2 separate regions of the Homo sapiens genome follow, and region 2 is linked to region 1. Evidence: promoter capture Hi-C in 16 types of primary human blood cells and fetal thymus (Javierre and others, 2016). All regions are on one chromosome and are shown on one strand. Each heading gives the region's core, a stretch centred on a gene start or on the middle of the fragment in contact. The rest is flanking DNA. Distances are from core to core; before and after follow the strand shown.

What was found. The method cuts DNA at HindIII sites, captures the fragments that hold promoters and counts their contacts. A CHiCAGO score of 5 or more calls a contact.
Region 2: a contact is called between a fragment that was not itself captured here and the fragment with the promoter of COX20 in region 1, in 1 of 17 cell types (total CD4 T cells). The highest score is 5.6, in total CD4 T cells.

The regions. Positions count from the first base shown.
Region 1 is chr1:244,834,248-244,837,012 of GRCh38, forward strand. It overlaps COX20 (cytochrome c oxidase assembly factor COX20), which reads left to right and starts at 1,411. Exons shown (of 4, transcript NM_198076.6): 1 at 1,411-1,509. The coding sequence starts at 1,468. RefSeq lists enhancers at 1-81, 585-644, 1,185-1,304 and silencers at 805-1,144, 1,385-1,434, 1,475-1,764. The HindIII fragment of the contact is 7,018 bases long and covers 1-2,704 here.
Region 2 is chr1:246,573,445-246,576,209 of GRCh38, forward strand. The region is part of intron 1 of CNST (consortin, connexin sorting protein); the gene reads left to right. Among named protein-coding and RNA genes, the nearest start is that of CNST, 8.4 kb to the left of the region's middle. The HindIII fragment of the contact is 2,120 bases long and covers 319-2,438 here.

The DNA.
Region 1 (2,765 bases), core at 161-2,660:
CAGGCGTGAGCCTCCGCGCCCGGCACAGTATGTAGTTTCTAACTACAATTTCAAAAACAAAAACAAAAAAACCCCCCCCGCCCCCGCAAAAAAAAACCTCAAAAAAAAAAATGTGACACATAAATACACAACCTTAACTGTGTATTTTACTGGGATTGTAGAAAGGTATCAAATGGGCATGCAAGTAAGGTCCTTACGGAGTAAGAAAACGCCCAATGAACAGTACTTAATATGAATTCGACATCGTTAACACTGAGCGCTTGCTGTGTGCCAGCGCGCAGCATAATTCGAAGCAGCATGACTTTGCACAATGACATATTCTACAAGTCCAGTTTCCTAAGGAGTGCCCTTAGGTTACATATAACCTAAACGTGAAATGTAGAAGTACATAAAGGAGGCATAAAGTTAAAGGGGAAAAATTATAAATACTAGAAAAAATTGCATTGTATTATTTTGATGGCTGAAAAATGGGCTCGACCCTGCATGCACGCGTTCTCCATTGAGCTCGACAATATGCAGTATTTTGTTTCACGTTATGTCGCAGTCTTAGGGAGGAGTGAAACGTGGAACACGACTTCACATCAAAAATGCACGTTGCAGAGGCATTTTTCCTTCGGGGACGCCGGAAGACTTCGCCACACGCGCGCCCTCTCCGCGGACACCAACGTGCTGACGCATGTTCATTAGCGAGCTGCTCCCTCCATTTTGTCCCCAGTCTCCTTTAGGCGAACTGCGCGGTTCTATGTTAAAGCCACTTAGTAATGAAACTATAAAAGGGAGGAAGTGGGGTGGGCGTGGGAGCCCCGTTTGCGCAAGGCAGGCGCGGGGGACTAAATGGCTGCTGGTGCAGAGTGGGGCTGCCCCGGCACCAAGGGCTCGTCCCGTGGCCGGAAGGACAAAGGACACTTAGGGGACGAGGGCCGCCGAGCCAGCGCGGAGCGCCTTCCGGGTCGGTGGGCTGGGGCGGGCTGGGGGCTGGGGCCGGGCCGACCCCCGCGGTGGGGCCCACCCCGCAGGACAAAGCAGCGGCCCCGCCCCTCGGCGCGCGCCCGAGGCTCGTGCGTGTGAGCACGCGCGCCGGAGACGGTTAGAAATGGCGGTTGGGGCGGAGCAGGGGGCTGGCGCGGGAAGCGGGGCTGTCTGGCTCGGTTACGCCCCCACCTCGCCAGGAATCTAGGAGTCGGTTTGTTTTCCGAACCCATCTCCTTCCGCTCTCCCGCCCCTGCAGGCTGTGTGCCGAGCTTGGAAGAAAGTGTGACCCGTTCGACGGAACAAAGGACATGACAGCCCGGCCCCGTGCGGCCACTGCGGAGCGTTAGGAACATTCCCTAAAATGGCGGCCGGCGCGTCGGAACAGGGCGGGAGGCGGCGGCGCGTGGGGGCGGGACGGGGAGGGGCGCGGCCAGCCGGGCTTCTGCTTCCGCGACCCCGGCGGTGCAGGGCGGGTGGAGTCGCGGAGTAGTCCTCATGGCCGCCCCGCCGGAGCCCGGTGAGCCCGAGGAGAGGAAGGTAACCTGGGGGTCGGCGGGGCGCGCGCCGCGGGTGGGCGGTGGGTAAGGACGTTCTCCGCGGAGCTCCTAGGCCCGGAGCACGTGTCACTGGCTTCTCTGCCACCCATGGGCTTGAAACTATTTTAACTGTTCCTAGTCCTTATCCCAAGCCTCCAACATTTTAATCTAAGTGGCCGGGACAAAATTGACCAAAACTAGGGGGAGGAGGGGACCAGTAGTACTAATGACTTACTACAGGTCATTATGAAATAAGCTAACAATACTGAATCTTTGGCGAGAAAATTTTGCTGCTAAGGGCACTGCACTGTAATTTGTTAGTAAAGGCTAATAGTAGAGATTAAAGCTCCGTTGAGGACAGGTGCCTTGTCTTTAACACGTTGTATTCATCACATTTAACATAGGAGTAATTGCTGAGGGATGACTTGATTGTACTACGATGAGATGAAGGGTTAAGATTTCTTCCCCATCACCAGTAGCCTCCCTAGCTGGTGTCCCTGTCTCCATACTCTCCTGAATCCACCTTCCACTATTGTCCGCTGGCCCTTTCCAGCCTGTAAACTGGACAGTTTTCATTCCTCTGCCTAACATCCAGTCGTAGCAGCCCATCCTATCTCTTTAAGGATAAAACCCAAATTCTTGGTATAGTAAAGCTAAACCAAGCGCTCTCCCTGGAAGGGCTCCTGTGTTTCACCAAAGCTGACTTACGTACTTTCCCCATCTTCCCAGGCATCTTGTACGTCGTTACATTTATCATATTGGAAGGTAATAAATGATCTTGTTTTCCTCTTTTCCTGGGCTCCTTATTAAGAGCAGGGAACCTAATTTATATCCTCAGGGCAGAACAGGTATTCAGAAAAGAATAATGCAAGAGGAAAAAAGTTTAATATAAACTAGGGAGATCGTAACATTGGCTAATCACGAGCAAATATTTATAGAAGACCCACTGTGTGCTAAATGGCTCCTAATATATACTTAAGATATTCTCCCAGCTTGGAAATTCTGCTCACTTCTTGCTCTTGCTTGCTTCTCTGGTGGGCTTCCATCCAAATTTGGCCATGACATCAGATCATATGGTTAATATTAACAAATATTGTATAAATTGTTTTCATACTTAATATCCAACAGGTTGTCAGTTTACGTACTACTGGTGCCTTATCTGTTTTTACTGTCCCATACACTGCCCATCTGGAATAAGCTTAGTGTTTAAAAAAAAAAAAAGATCTTTGCATACACACAGTAAATCCTAGATTCAGT
Region 2 (2,765 bases), core at 129-2,628, 1.7 Mb after region 1:
AACCTAAAGTAAAATAGTATTTAATTCAAGAAGTTAGTTTTTATTATATCAGGTGGCCTCTTGGTTGGTTATAGTTTCGTGCATTCTGATGCCTGCGGGCTTTTTATCCTTCCTGTCTCCACTGCATAGCTGGGGAAAACCTAGGGATTGCCCGGTGAATGCCAACAGAGCTTTAACCTGTGTGTCCATGGCTTGCCTTCCCTGAAGCCTCAAAGAGAACAGCTGCGAGTGCAAAAACCTTATGAGCAAAATTTCTGCTCCAGGAACACTTATCTGGGCTGAGGAAACATATTCTAAGAATATCTGTTTTGTAACTAAAGCTTCCATGTACTTGTGTAACGCTTTGTGTAAAACCACGTACTTTGTATAGCCTTTGCTGGAGAGTTTCCATTTTCCTCCAGCTCTTCAGTGTAAGTGAAAAAATGTGCCCAGAATGTCTCTATAGATTATTCTGCCTTCCCTCACCTTTTAGTTTTTTCCATGGAAAGCTGACAGGTCAGAATAGGCATATTTTATTAGAAACTCGAAGTGGTGGGGGGTAGAAGTACACATCTTTGCCTCTTTTTTCCTTCTTGATTACAGAAGTAATAATGCTCCAAAGATGTTTTTTAATAAAACTGAGTCTCGCTCTGTTGCCCAGGCTGGAGTGCAGTGGCGTGATCTCAGCTCACTGCAAGCTCCACTACTCCTGGGTTCACGCCATTCTCCCGCCTCAGCCTCCGGAGTGGCTGGGACTACAGGCACCCGCCACCGCGCCCGGCTAATTTTTTGTATTTTTATTAGAGACGGGATTTCACCGTGTTAGCCAGGATGGTCTCGATCTCCTTACCTTGTGATCCGCCCGCCTCGGCCTCCCAAAGTGTTGGGATTACAGGCGTGAGCCACCGCTCCCAGCCGCTCCAAAGATTTTTTAAAAAGATAAATAAATTTTAACTTGAGGAAAACATGGTTATTCAAAAATTCGTGTTTTTTCTTTTTCTTTAAAAAAAATTTTTTTTAGAGACAGCTTGTCGCACTATCACCCAGGTTGCCATGCAGTGGCAAGATTATAGCTCCGTGCAGCCTCAAACTCCTGGACTCAAGCAATCCTCCCACTTCAGCCTCCCTAGTAGCTGGGACTGCAGGTATGCAGTCTAATTTTTTTTTTTTAACTTTTTGCAGAGATAGGGCCTCCCTGTGTTGCCCCAGCTGGTCTAGAACTCCTGGCCTCCTCCAGGAGCGATCCTCCAGCCTTGGCCTCCCAAAGCACAATACGTGTATTTTTCAGAGGGAATTCTCAACTTTCATCAGATTTTTCAAGGAATATGTTACTCAAAAAAGGACAACAACCACAGCATCAGTTTGACTTGGTTGGTTATTGCATGTCCTTCCTAAATCTCTCTTATAAGCAGCTATGGCTTTATAAGGATTCCTATGTAAAAGCATCATTTTTAGTAGTATTTTATTTAAAACAAAAATAATTTAATAGATTATGAAGGAAAGTCATAGTGAGTCAAAGAACAAATCTGAACAAATCTTCCTCAAGTATTTTATTTATTTATTTATTTATTTATTTATTTATTTATTTTTGAGACAGAGTCTCACTCTGTTGCCCAGGCTGGAGTGCAGTGGCACGATCTTGGCTCACTGCAGCCTCCACCTCCCGGGTTCAAGTGATTCTCGCCTCAGCCTCCCGAGTAGCTGGGATTACAGGCACCCGCCGCCAAGCCTGGCTAATTTTTGTATTTTCAGTAGAGACGGGGTTTCATCATGTTGGCCAGGCTGGTCTTGAACTCCTGACCTCCTGACCTTTTGTCAAGTGTTCAGACAAAAACGTGCACAAATGTTTATAACAGCATTATTCACAGGAGTCAAAAAGTAGAAACAGCCCAAATGTCCATCAACTGATGAATAGATAAATAAAAGGTGGTATATCTGTACAGTGGAAGATTCTTTGGCAATAAAAAGAAATGAAGTATCAGTATATAGTACAACATGGATACCCCTTGAAAACATGCTGAGTGAAAGAAGCTAATTGCAATAGACCGCATATTGTATAATTCCATTTACGTGAAATGTCCAGAATATGTAAATCTATAGAGACAGAAAGTACATGAGTGGTTTGAGTGATTGCCTGGGGCTGTGGTGGGGGTGCAGGAGAATGGGAAATCACTGCTAGTGGGTATGTAGGGCAGGGGGGATCTTTTCGGGGTGATAAGATGTTCTAGAATTGATTGTGTACAATTTGTGAATACTAAAAGCTATTGAATTGTGCATTTTAAGTGGGTGAATTGTATGGTATATGAATTATATGTCGATAAAGGTGTCATGAAACTCAACTAGAAAAAATACAAGTTTATCATAGAAAATATGTAAAATACAGAGAAGTGGAAGAGGAAAAAAGTAATTAGCATTTTTAAAAATTCCCTATTTTTATTTCAATGATAAAAAATAATATAAGCTTATTCAAGAACAATACTGACACTTTAAAACAACATTCTCATATAAGATTTCAGTGCTCTCTGGGCGCGGTGGCTCGCGCCTGTAACGCCTGTAATCCCAGCACTTTGGGAGGCCGAGGCGAGCAGATCACTTGAGGTCAGGAATTCAAGACCAGCCTGGCCAACATGGTGAAACCGTGTCCCTACTAAAAATGCAAAAATTAGCCAGGCATGGTGGCGGGCGCCTGTAATCCCAGATACTCTGGAGGCTGAGGCAGGAGAATTGGTTGAACCCGGGAGGTGGAGCTTGCAGTGAGCCGAAATGGCGCCATTGCACTCCAGCCT